Regions from separate parts of the Homo sapiens genome. Here region 1 is linked to region 2. Evidence: promoter capture Hi-C in 16 types of primary human blood cells and fetal thymus (Javierre and others, 2016). All regions are on one chromosome and are shown on one strand. Each heading gives the region's core, a stretch centred on a gene start or on the middle of the fragment in contact. The rest is flanking DNA. Distances are from core to core; before and after follow the strand shown. Region 1 overlaps HMGN5 (high mobility group nucleosome binding domain 5). Region 2 holds the start of FTX (FTX transcript, XIST regulator).

The links. The method cuts DNA at HindIII sites, captures the fragments that hold promoters and counts their contacts. A CHiCAGO score of 5 or more calls a contact.
Region 1: a fragment that was not itself captured here is called in contact with the fragment with the promoter of FTX in region 2 in 1 of 17 cell types (fetal thymus); the score reaches 10.9 in fetal thymus.

Annotation. Positions count from the first base shown.
Region 1 is chrX:81,120,171-81,126,705 of GRCh38, reverse strand. HMGN5 (high mobility group nucleosome binding domain 5) reads left to right here. Exons shown (of 7, transcript NM_030763.3): 2 at 5,034-5,171. The coding sequence starts at 5,157. Among named protein-coding and RNA genes, the nearest start is that of HMGN5, 78 kb to the left of the region's middle. RefSeq lists an enhancer at 4,525-4,754. The HindIII fragment of the contact is 1,066 bases long and covers 4,202-5,267 here.
Region 2 is chrX:74,291,389-74,297,968 of GRCh38, reverse strand. FTX (FTX transcript, XIST regulator) reads left to right here and starts at 4,395. Exons shown (of 7, transcript NR_028379.1): 1 at 4,395-4,617. It overlaps LOC124905199 (a long non-coding RNA gene), which reads left to right and starts at 5,373. Exons shown (of 2, transcript XR_007068266.1): 1 at 5,373-6,211. RefSeq lists an enhancer at 5,141-5,931. The HindIII fragment of the contact is 8,135 bases long and covers 1-5,300 here.

The DNA.
Region 1 (6,535 bases), core at 3,485-5,984, 6.8 Mb before region 2:
AATCTTATAAAGTAAGAAAGTTTGAAACTCTTTTCAAGTAAATGATGACACCTACTGGATGTTAGAAATCTTCAAATAACATTTAACCAATAATGAATCTCATCCGCAATTTTTATCTGAAAACCTCTTTGCTGGCAAGGGAAAGAAGAAAACATGGGCAAGCATTTGGACGTTCAAGATTAAAAACTCACATTCACCAGACTTACTTTAGACCAAAAAACAAATAAAGGAATAAGGTAAAAAGTAGTTTTTCTCTTCTGAATTTTCTACTTTCTTGAGGTATAGAAAACTGACTAGAGAATACAAGTTTAAGATCATAGATGAGTGAGGATCCAATGAATCAGTAAAAAGATATATCTGAAGTAGGTTGACAGCCAGAGTTTCATCTTGAGTTTTAAGGTCATTGAGATGGAACATAATTCGTGTTTACCAAATGTGTCATTTAGTCATTAACATTTCTGTATAAACTGTGTAATTGCTGATATCACAACCGTAGATAAAATTTTTAGTAAAAAAGTGAAAAAAACTGCCTGATTTTTTTTTTTTTTTTTTTTTTTTGAGACTGCGTCTTGCTCTGTCACCCAGGCTGGAGTGCAGTGGCATGATCTCGGCTCATTGCAACCTCTGCCTCCCAGGTTCAAGCGATTCTCCTGCCGCAGCCTCCCAAGTAGCTGAGATTACAGGCATCCACCACCACACCCCGCTAATTTTTGTATTTTTGGTAGAGATGGGGTTTCACCATGTTGGCCATGTTGATCTCGAACTCTTCACCTCAGGTGATCCACCCGCCTCAGCGTCCCAAAGAGCTGGGATTACAGACGCGAGCCACCACACCCAGCCAACTGCTTAAATTTTAATAGATGATCTTTCGCAAGTCATTTAAGCTCTCTGGGCTTGTGTTTATTCATCTGTATTCCAAGGGTATTGAAACTAGAAAATCTCTATTAGTATCTGCTAAACTTGAATGTCTGAAAGCCTAAAAATAGCATTCTTTTAAATTGTTACTTTAAAAGTCGGTAGAAATTTTACAAATAGAAACATAAAATGTATTATATTCCTTTTACCCCTAGAAAGCAGCTCAATTTACTTTTACCACTGGAAAAATAATCTATCTGTCATATCAGTGGCTACTCTTTAATTCAGTATTTTATTAGTCTTTGGCCTGCTGCAAATAAACATAGGACATAGGAAGATTTGGGTCACCAGAATTACAGTTTTTCCAGAGTCAGTCTCAGCTAAGTGGCATCATCAATTCAAATAAATTTCTGATATCAATCTTAAACAAGGCTCAGAAATAAGTGTATTGATGTATTTGGCTCACTGTAGACTTGGATTTATTTTACCCTCTGAAAATACCAACAAAAAAAATCTAAAACACTGTATTCTAATAATATGATAGAATTCTTGCATTATTTGCTGACAATAGTATATAGTTTTCCAATTTTTTATTTTATTAAAATACAACAGGAATAATAATGGTGTTGCATGAGGTCAAAATTAGAGATATTTTAACAGAGAAAATAAAGTATTTCTTACTAGTCAATCAGTATTTTTGAGATCCCATTGCATGCAAAGTAGTGTATCTAGAATGCTTTTAATTAATCATATATATATATAATTTTAAACTATGAATATACAGAACATTTGAAGACCTGTTTTATCTTGGCTGTTTAGCATTCCTTTTCTCATAAATACATAATATTTTCTTTTGGATTCTCTGTCAATATATCTTAATGTTGGTGCCTTTAATCCATAAATTTTCATATCTTCCTGTGTCATTTTTAACTGGTTACTAAATGGACACGTTACAGTTCCTGTAAATTTTGGGAGTGGTAGTAGGCATGCTTAATAGCCAGGTAAAATTAGGGAATTCTGTGGAGAATTGTCAGGCAATCAATTTTCCTAGTCATTAATAAATTAAAAAGAGAAACAAGCCAACGTAATCTTAGAAAAAAATAGTCCAGTAAAAAGTCTCACTTTGACAATTACACAAAAATAACCTTTTTACTCTGGAATAATTTATCAATTTTAGAAAAATATATTGGAAAAGTAGTAAATTCTACAGAAGGTATGTAGAGTGTGATGTGCTGAGTAAATATTTAGGCAAAAGGAAATAAGTATATACAAGTTTGACCCAATTTGAAGAAGTTTGATGGAGTGGTTGGGAAAAAAAGGAAAAATCAAGCTTGCTTGTGTCCTATGAGTAGTACAATCTAAATTGTATAGTATAACAGCAGGGAAGAATTTCTTAGGGCTAAAATAATTGAAGAAGGCTTTTGTCAAAGAGGTGATATTTGGATTGGGTCTAAACAGTTTGGTAAACATTTGATAGGTGAAGATATTTGAGAATGGGGCTGCAGTCAGAGGTAATAATACTGCAAAGGCAAAGAGCCTAAACAGGTTTGCTAATGTAAAGGACCGCTCTGGTTAATGGTTAGAAGGAAGAACATGAGGAAATGGGGGATTGGGGTCAAGAAACAGAAGAATGTTTCACACTTAGAAAATGTTCTTTTGCATGCATGACTATTTTTTCAATTTAATAAGATATAAATCACAGTTGCAACACGTTAGCCTTCAAGAAGAAAAAACTGGCCAAAAAAGAAAATTGCTGACAAATTTAAGAGGAGTTTTAGAGCTCACTGACCTGCACATTATGCTTTGCTTCTCTAAGCTTTACCTTCCAAGGCTCCTCAAGATAATTTGTTTCAATCCACTTGGACTAGGCACTATGTTCCCTGAACAAGTACAACCTTTTCCTGCCGCTGCATTTGCTGTAATGTAACAGTCTACCGAACTGTTCACAGGCAAGCCAAATTCCACTTCCTCAATCAAACCCTTTGCCAAGTTACCTTAGTCCTAAAAGATCCTTCCCTCCTGTTTTATTATTGAATTTAGATTGCACCATTCAGATAATACAATCAGCTTTGATTTGTAAATAGGTATGCATCTGTTTGCTCAATCCTACAAAATTATAAAATTCCTTAAAGACAGAAGCTGTGTAATGCAACTTTGCATGCTACAGGGTTTCGCATTTTCATAAGCTAGTCTACAAAAACAAAATCCGACTCACAAAATAATGCTAAATAAGAATTTGTTGAATGGATGCATTCCACTGCTGACACATTTTCATTCCCTTCATTTTTCTTCTTATCCTTATGAGGCAATCCTTATATTAAAATCAATTTTTATGCTTATCTTCTAACTGTTGGAGAATAAAATGATTGAAACATATTTAAGTTCACCCAGGAATGCTTTTACCATAAGGGCAAAAAGTGACATCAGGAACATCTAGGGATTATCCCAATAACTGTGGACGAAGGAAGCAATTTAAATATCTTTCTGATTTACTTACTTGAATTAGAATGCAGTATGAAGTTGGGGGAAGGAAACTGAGCAGCAGTCACGCAGGCTCATTCTACCTGATCTATGTAATTCCATACTATCAGTGCTGGGGAAGAATGGGCAATAATAATAATAATAATGATATAAATATATAACAAAATAAAAATAATATAGCAATAGTAAATATAATAATTACAATGGGTTATTCTGTTAGGCTGTATTTTTGCTTGAAGGGATGGTTTGGCACTCTGTAGCAGATACAGTGTTTATCTCTTAAACTGATTATTCCAAATTTTTTAACCTACATAAACACAAATGAATTCTTCCTAAAGTAACTGTTCAAAAGGTTAAATTTCTTTTTTGATTAACCCTCCAGGATAAGGATTTGGGTTGTTGTTTGGGAGCACTTTTATACACAGGTAGCTCTTACAACAACCACATCAAGGCGCCTCTGAGAAAGGGCGGTGGGGAATTAGATCCTCTATTTTAATCATATTTATTCCCAAGTAATTTATTCATCAATCTCCACCTCAACCCTGAAAACTTTAGGTCTCAGAAACTGACACTGAAAGGCACCTATAAGCCTCTCTTACAGTCGAAAGTCACCTAAATATGGCTGGGACTAGAGTGACGCTATGGAGACATTCTCCTTTGGCAAAAATTTTAAAGGGCCGCCTAGAAACTCAGTAATGAAGATACTTAATATTTTTAGACAATCTTTTTAAATATCAAAATTCTTGCAAAAAAGTCCATGATGAACAAAATATCAAAAATTTAAATAAAGACAGGATCATACCCTGCACTTGCGTGACTCACCTCACTCGCCTCATCCTAGTCTCCTGGGTTTTTGTCACAAGCTTAAATTTTGTGCCTGAGGCGAGTACCTCAATGGCTTTATGCTAGTCTAGGTTCTGAGTCCTAAACACTTTCGTGGATAGCACCTTCTTGAGTCCTTTCACTAAATGCAACCTTCAGATTAAAAATCTATTCTCAGTGTTTTTCATTTGGATAGACCTCTGCTATTACACATTTCCCTCGGAGTCCCGCTGAATTCTTCGTATACCTCCTCCAAGTGGGATAACGGTATAGCTCCCGGTTTTGTCGCTACTCTACACCTGCGGAAAACACGCCATTTTGGCACCCTCCTCTTGCCAGCACCACAGTTCTGCTTTGGCAGGATGTTCCCACACCAGAGAAACATCTCCACTCTTTTGCGCTTTCTGAATGAATGTTCTTGTCGGTTCAACACCATCCCGCCAAAGGTGGCAGGGAAAGACCGGAGCCCAGACTCAACTGGTCTTAAAAGCACTTATCCCGCTAGGAATAGGGAAGGGTGGCGGGTTTGGAGGCTGTGAAGAAAGCAACTGTTGTGGCTTTCGCCTGTCATTATAACATAAAAGAAAAAAAAACTGATCAAGTCAGCTCTGGCTTTCCTGCTGTTCTTATTCCTGATCGCTTAGCCCTTGCTAAGTTCGCGTGCTCCGCCACTACACCAGCGGTTAGAGCCGACAGGGAACGAGGGCTTCGGGCAAGTTCGCGGGCCACGCCCCTCAAAGCCGGCTGCCTCTTCTTATTGGCCTGAGAGCCTGTCACTCCAATGTGGCTCCCACTCCGGTTAACCATTCACGTAGTTTGGTTGCGTCTTGGCGTGTTTAATGTTGCCAATAACGAGGGATTTTTTTTTTTTCCAGAGGAGAGTACAGGTCGTGCTGCAGTTAGTTCATTGAAAACTCATTTGCTCTTGGAGCAGTCAGGCAGTGACTGCCTTCGGCTTTTTTTCTGCTGACTAAGATCTCCTATAGAGAGCTACAACAATGCCCAAAAGAAAGGTAAGTGAAATGGAAAGACAGACGGGGAATGAGCTGCTGAGTTACCTATTTCCTAATAGGAAGAATTTATTTGTTTGTTTGGTTTTTTTTAAAGCTTTTTGGCTTCTTCCATTTTGTGATGTAATGAAACGGAAAGGGGTAGAAGGGCAAAGAGCAGTCGGTGTAAGGTTTAGGATGGTCTTGCATGCAACTGGTAGTTCACTTTTGGAGTGTTCTGTTTAAGGAGAGAATCTCTTGAAAGGTGTCTCCATGCTGAATTACAAACAGCCATAGCGCTGGGCTGTCGCTTCCTACCCCAACCCCCTTCCTCCGCTTACCCTATTGGAGAACACTTCTCCCAACCATACTTCAGTTTCCTCCTCTGCCACCGGCTTTTCTCGGGGAACCGTCCCGTCTGGGGAACGAAAGCCATGGCTTTCTCCTGTATTTGCCTTTGTTCTTCCCGTTTTCTTTTTTCTTTTTTTTTTTTCCTTCCCTCCTCCTCCACTTCTTGTCAGGCCAGATGGCTATGCAATGGTAATCCTGTGCCATTAGGCGGCGCAGACTTCAAACTGTCCTAGAGAACAGAGATTCACCGCTGTAATTAGAAACTTTAGGGGTGAGAAAGCTGGACCTTTCCAAGCTCTTTAGCTAAAGATGGGAAGATTATAAGGAGACAGCGTCGGATAAACTTGCTGATGTTGGGGTAGCATGGATTTGTTCACTTTAGTAGTGCAGAATTGATCTGAGCCTTTCGAGCTCCACAGGTCTTCTGCAAACCCTCACTTCACAATTCCTGGCTCCTCGCAGACAGGAAACAAGTTCACGCTCGGCGTTTTTTTCTTAGTCCCCTAGAAGTGAAATCGAACGCTGTTTCATTGCTTGGTAAAACCGTATAACACTATGCTAAGACATTATGATTGTTTTTGGATTATTCCTATAAACAACTCCGCCTTCCTTATTCCTAAAACATAGGAATAATACTGAAATTCCCCCGTGCTCTGTGGCTGTCTGAATCGTGCAATAGCTTGATAATTCTCAGGCTAAAGGGCTGCTCAGATATGGAAAACAACTGTTTCTAATCACCATCCCCCCTTCCTGAGATTCCCGCCACTGTGCTTTTCTATACTTGTGCAGTAGGTCTTGCTGTTTTCCAGAGCTGACAGCAACCTTAAAGCAGGTAGTGGCGGGAAGTTTTAAAATCGGCGGCCAGTTTCTTAGAATAAAGCATTGACTTTGTAACAAAGAGGTCTCCCCAAGAAAACACTGTGGGGGCTGTAATTCTTGCATGCAAAACTTGGAGAAAATAGTCCAGAATCAGTGGAGAGGATAAGATAGGTACAATTGCATGGCAAACATAAGGCAAGAAAGCGAAATTGCATGAA
Region 2 (6,580 bases), core at 3,146-5,645:
TGCATGTGTGTGCGTGCACACACACACACATGCATGCATGTGCGTAAAGAGAAAGAGAGAGAGAGATTTTAAAGAATTAGTTCACATGACTATAGAGGTTGGCAAGTCCAAAATCTGCAAGGTGGGCTGGCAGCCTGGAGCTCCAGGAAAGAGCTGATACCGTAGTTCAAGCCCAAAGGCCATCAGACTGGGAACCTAGAGAAGAGCCAATGTTGCAGTTCAAAGGCCATCTGTTGGCAGAATTCCTTCTTACCCAGAATAGGTCAGTCTTTTGTTCTATTCAAGTCTTCAACTGATTGATGAGGCCGACCCACATTATGGAGGGCAATGCTTTATTCGAAATCCATTAATTTAAATGTTAATTTCATCCAAAAGCACCCCTCACAGAAACATCTAGAATTATGTTTCACCAAATATCTGGGCATCGTGGCCCAGCCAAGTTGACATATAAAATTAATCATCACATCCTCTAGAAGAAGCCCAGTCTCCTAAGAAATGTATAGGATGGGGGAAAAGAGAAAAATAAAGTCTCAGATGTTAGCTTAAAATGAGTGGATACAACAGAGGTTCCCAAATTTCTTCCTTACCACTCCTTAGGAACGGCTTGTGAACTGGGAAGTTTAGACAAATAGGTAGGCCTAGGACTCTAAGTATTTTACAGGGTTCAAGATTTACCAGCTGTGTCTCTTTTTCTTTTTTTCTTCAAGATGGAGTCTTGCTCTGTCACCCAGGCTGGAGTGCAGTGGCTCGATCTTGGCTCACTGCAACCTCTGCCTCCTGAGTTCAAGCAATTCTCCTGCCTCAGCTTCCCGCATAGCTGGGATTACAGGCACCTGCCACCATACCCGGCTAATTTTTGTATTTTTAGTAGAGATGAGGTTTCACTGTGTTGCCAGGCTGGTCTCAAACTCCTGACCTCGTGATCTGCCTGTCTCGGCCTCCCAAAGTGCTGGGATTACAGGCGTGAGCCACCGCACCCAGCCCGTGCCTTTTTCCTGAATTTCTCTTCTTAAGGGGCCATGGTACATTATGGAAGTTTTTCAAAATAAAGAGACGTGGAAAGAGTAAGTAACTCAATCTGTAAGAATTATGTGCTGATTTCAATTTTATAATACTTTCAAAAAATGCAATGTTGTCCATTTATTAAAAATAGTGAAGATAATTAATAATTAGGGGCATGGAAAAGCAGTGAAAACATCACAATATTGTATCTATAAAATGTTGATGTTTGTCTGTGCCATTGGTAAATAGTGTTGGTGGGGGAAAAGTTGAGTCTCTTATGCATTGAACCTTTGGGGTAATGTGTAGTGATTTCCATATGGCTGAGCCTAGGACCAAGCTCCTTGCCTGAGATGAAGGTAGAAGTAGAAGTTCCTTGGAAGAAACAGAACTAAATCTGTTTGCTGATGAATATTCATCTGTGCATGGTAAAAACACAGCCTCAAACACAAATATAGTGTCATAAAAAATGTTAACGTTAGGCCAGGTGCAAGGGCTCCCACCTGTAATCCCAGCATTTTGGGAGGCCGAGGCGGGCGGATCACGAGGTCAGGAGTTCGAGACCAGCCTGACGAACATGGTGAAACCCCATCTCTACTAAGAATACAAAAATTAGCCGGGCGTGGTGGCGGGCGCCTGTAATCCCAGCTACTCAGGAGGCTAAGACAGGAGAATCGCTTGAACCTGGGAGGCAGAGATTGCAGTGAGCCGAGATCGTGCCATTGCACTCCAGCCTGGGCCACAGAGCAAGACTGTCTCAAAAAAAAAAAAAAGTTAATGTTAAAACATTATATATACATTTTTTCTTTTTCTTTCTTTCCTTTTTTTTTTTTTTTGAGATGGAGTTTCACTCTATCACCCAGGCTGGAGGGCAGTGGCATGATCTCGGCTTACTATAACCTCTGCCTCCCAGGTTCAAGCGAGTCAGCTGCCTCAGCCTCCCGAGTAGCTGGGATTACAGGTGCCCGCCACCACGCCCAGCTAATTTTTGCATGTTTAGTAGAGACGGGGTTTCACCATGTTGGCCAGGCTGGTCTTGAACTCCTGACCTTAACTGATCTGCCTGCCTTGGCTTCCCAAAGTACTGGGATTACAGGTGCGAGCCACTGTGCTTGGCCCCCACCTCTTTTTTTTTTTTTTTTTAAATAGAGACAGGGTATTGCTATGTTGCCAAGGCTGGTTTCGAACTTGTGGTCTCAGGCAATCTTCCTGCATTGGCCTCCCAAAGTGCTGGGATTACAGGCATGAGCCACCACGCCCAGCCAAAACATTATATATTTGAACAAAAATCATAAGAGAACACAAAGATGCTTGCTATGGTTTGAATATGTCTCTCAAAGTTCATATGTTGGAAATTTGATGCCCCATGTGGTGGTGTTGGGAGGTGAGGCTTAAAGGGAGGTGTTTGAGTCATGGGGGCACCACTCTTATGAATAGCTTAATGCTATTATTGAGGGAGTGGGTTTGTTATTTCAGTAGTGGGTTCCTTATTAAAGGATGAGTTCTGGCCCCCTCTTGCGCGCACTCTCTCTTTCTCTATCTCTTTGCCCTTCCACCATGGGATGATGTAGCAGGAAAGCCACTGTCAGATGCCAGCTCCTCAGTCTTGGACTTCCCATTCTCCAGAACTGTGAGGAAATAAATTTCTGTTCTTTATAAATTGCCGAGTCTGCAGTATTTTGTTACAGTGGTACATAATGGACTAAGACAATACTAATGGGTATGAAGTTTCTTTTTGGGGTGATGAAAATATTCTAAAATTGATTGTAGTGGTGGCTGCATAATTCTGTGAATATACTAAAATCCATTGCATTGTACACTTTAAGTTGGTTAACTGTATGATATGTAAATTATATATTAATAAAACCATTAAAACAGAAAAATAACAGAGATAAGAGCATTTGTTAAAATAGTGTTGTAGAATTTGGGGTAAAATTTCTTATATTTTAACTTTTGTGTAATAATAAATGATTATTTTAATTTAGAAGAGGTTCTTTGTACCACTGAGATTTCGGCATTTCTTTTTTATTTAATGCATGCCTATTTCTCTTTTTTCTTCTTCATATGCACATTGTTGTATAATTTTTTGGGCGTATTATATAACAAATGCAAACCCATTTTTCTCTGAATAATGTTGATATAACATTCTTAAGTTAATTTGAGAGGATGGTGATGTATAAGTTTATGAGTTTTAGGATTTATGAATTTGCGGGTCTCAGTTTTTGGTATTTCCAAACTGGCTCTTTTAGAAAGCAATAAGAACCAGACACCAAAGTAAAACATAATAAAGAGAAACAAAATATTATTTTGTATTCTTTCTAGTTCACACCCAAAGAGGGATCTATTTCAGAGCCTCTTAAGTAAATAATGCCATTTCCCTCAAAATTAATATTTGAGTTCTTACAGAAGACAAGAACAGGCCTTGTAGTAAGCAGTGAAGGACATTGAATCTCATTTTTAATGTCCAGACAATACCAGGGTTGTGAATAGAAAGAAAAGAGCTTTCCATGTTGGTGGTCTACTGCCTCTTACCCCCAAATTGATTGAACACTTTTGCAGTTTTTGTTCTGGTTCCCTGTCTCTGGATCTTCCCTGTGGGTCATCATCAAAAAGGTGTTCTCTTTGCCCAAGACAGGCTGGTTGAGCTCACCCTGAGAGCTGCTTTGGAGAGGATGTGTGGAAATATTTTTTTTCTTTTTTTGAGATGGGGTCTCACTCTGTTGCCCAGGCTGGCAACATCATAGCTGGCACAATCATAGCTCACTGTAGCCTCGACTTCCTGGGCTCGAGTGATTCTTCCACCTCAGCCTTCTGAATAGCTGGGAGTACAGGTGCGCACCACCACGCCCGGCTAATTTTTGTATTTATTTGTAGAGACGGGGTTTCGCCATGTCACCCGAGCTGGTCTCGAACTCCTGAACTCAAGGGTTCCGTCCACCTCGGCCTCCCAAAGTGCTGGGATTACAGGTGTGAGCCACCGCGCCCGGGCTACAATTATTTAAAAAAAAATTTTTGCGGTAATTTTTACAAATTTCAACATCAGGCATAGGAGGAGAGGAGTAAGAGGCCCAAGAGGGCTGCAGACTGGCAGGGAAAGTGAAGAATTGAAGGGTAGACCACTAACGATAGCAGAGGAAATAAAGGTAGATGGTGGGCTAAGAATAATGGGAGAGGGATTGACGAAAGAAGTATGGGCTGAGGGAGGGATGATGGTGGAGGCCAGTGTGACCGAGGGGAGGGGAAAGGTGGAAGAAGCAGAGTGGGATAGCGTCCTGGGAAAGAAGTGAAGGAGGTCGGTGGACCGCTAAGGGTTAGACTCCTAGAGGCTGGAGAGCGGCGCGTGGGGGAGGCGGGGCGCGGAGGGGGGGTTAAGGGGCGTTAGCAGCGCATGCGCTGGAAGCACACTGCGGCGATTCTGGAGAGGTTGTCCTTTTCTGGCATCAGCGTTGCGGCTCGAGGCAAAGCTGGTCCTGTGCCTGCTGTCCATTGCCGCTAAGGCCTGCTGCTGCCATTCAGGCGTGTCTCTCTCTCTCTCTCTCTTTCATGCCGCTCTCTCCACCCCATCTTGGGACGGCCAGCTCTAAGAATTCCTGCTACGACACTGAATTCAACCAGGAGGTAAAGGAACGATGTAGGGGAAGAACAGAACATGGAGGGCGGCGGAGGGAACTTGGGCCAGGAAGATCCTTAATTTGTGCATTTTTCCAGTTCACGGGAGGAAAAAATGGAATACGTTACAGGCCCCAGTTTTCCAAAAGGATGTTGAGCATTTGCTTCCCATTGTGAAAGGAATGCGGGTTCCTTTCCTCTAACTAGAGTCAAGGCACCTGAGCATCGGTGTTTTCCATAATGTTCCCTGTTTAAAACATTTGTGGTTCGTCATTTGTAGCAGATGTATTTAAAGGGCGAGGCCTTAGGATTATGTTCATCCGATGGTTTGTGAAAGTTTTCCTTGCCTTTGTTCAGGTTGACCGGTCTTATGTGAATCCTGGGGTACTCTAGCCCCCTCCCTTGGAGTTGGGACCGATTCCATCTAGATCTGGGATTCACTCTGATCACCTGCAACGCCTTCTTTCCCCGATTCAACTTCCCTAGTTTATCGCATCTACTCGCATTAGGGAAGGCTGGTAATGGCTCTCCTTGGGCACTGGGGCAGAATTGTGGCGAGAAACACGTCCAGATAGCATCAGGCATGCATACTGTATACAAATGGGAGCAAGAAGAGAGAGGACTATCGCGGTGCGCAGGGTATTTGAGAGGCTGGATGAGGAGGCGCGGCGCCGAGGGGCGGCGCTCAAGCTTACAGTATTTGAGAAGACCTGAGTTAAGGGGACGGGCTCCAGTGGGGCGGGGGTGGGGAGAGGGAGGCACGCATGCGCAAGGCTTGAATGGCGTCGGGGTTGGAGGGTTGGAAGGTCGGGAAGTGAAGGACTCGCAGGCATATTTAACAACGCAAAGTTGCTAGGAGTTGGTACCAGCGTTTGGGAGGTAGAGGTGGCGCTCATGCATATTTGAGACAACATCTGGATGGTTGGGGAGAACGGTAAGGAGGAAGCGGCGCGCATGCGTATTTCAGACGGAGTGCCGGGGAGGGGAGGCGCTCAGCATTCGGGTAATTAAGGTTGCAAAATGGCGAGGGGGGAGGTAAGCTGTCTTTGCTTGGCCATCTTGGGCTAGCAGGCCTTGCAGAGAACTACCTTTTTAGCTGAGTGAAGGGATCAACCTGAGTTGGAGTTCTCCTATGCTGTGGCCAGATCCACTAGAAATTAACCCAGAATCTTAGCCTCTCAGTGGCCTATCGGTAAGTGGGTACAAAAATGAGGAGGCGATGATGACTCTGCAAAAGGTTGCGGCAGCTGGCGGTGCGTAGGAAATGCGTAAAAAGGGAGCACTTGGAGACAGGCCACATTTGGGCAGTACGCATTCGGAGGGCTCTCTGGCTTTCCGATCTTGGGTCGCTGTACTTGGCTCTGAATACAGTCACCCCATCAGAGTAGCAAAACACTGTGGTTGTAGTGTGAGAATCCAATGTTAATGTTGGCCGAAAGCTCTTGATTTTCTTCCCTGAGAACATAGGCGTGAGGATTTGGATGTGTTTCCAAATGCTTGTTACTCTTTGCCGTAAACCTGGAATTTGGACCTATGGCTGCCTGGGACTCATACTGTCGTGGAGAAAGATTGAAAAGTAGTTAATGGCAGTGGTGGTATGAAGGTAACCTGGGCTTTCACCCTTTCCTTTATTTTTTCTTCTGTAGAACTTTCAGCACGGTTTTGTCAAGGGAGAAGATTAGAGTTTCTATTTTAAAGGCAGATGTACTGTCATGACTCTCTGAAGACTTGCTGTTAATCGCTAAAACTAGTAAGTTAGCACTTAGATACAGACATAGTTAGAAGGAGCACAGGATTAAAAACTGAAAAAAACATCTTTTCCCAGTAATCCTAGCTATTATTTCATGGTGGTCCTTTTCCTTCTCTGGGCCTATTTCTCTCTCTCGCTCATTTATTTATTTACTTTTAGACAGAGTCTTGCTCCGTCGCCCAGGCTGGAGTGCGGTGGCGCGATCTCAATTCACTACAACCT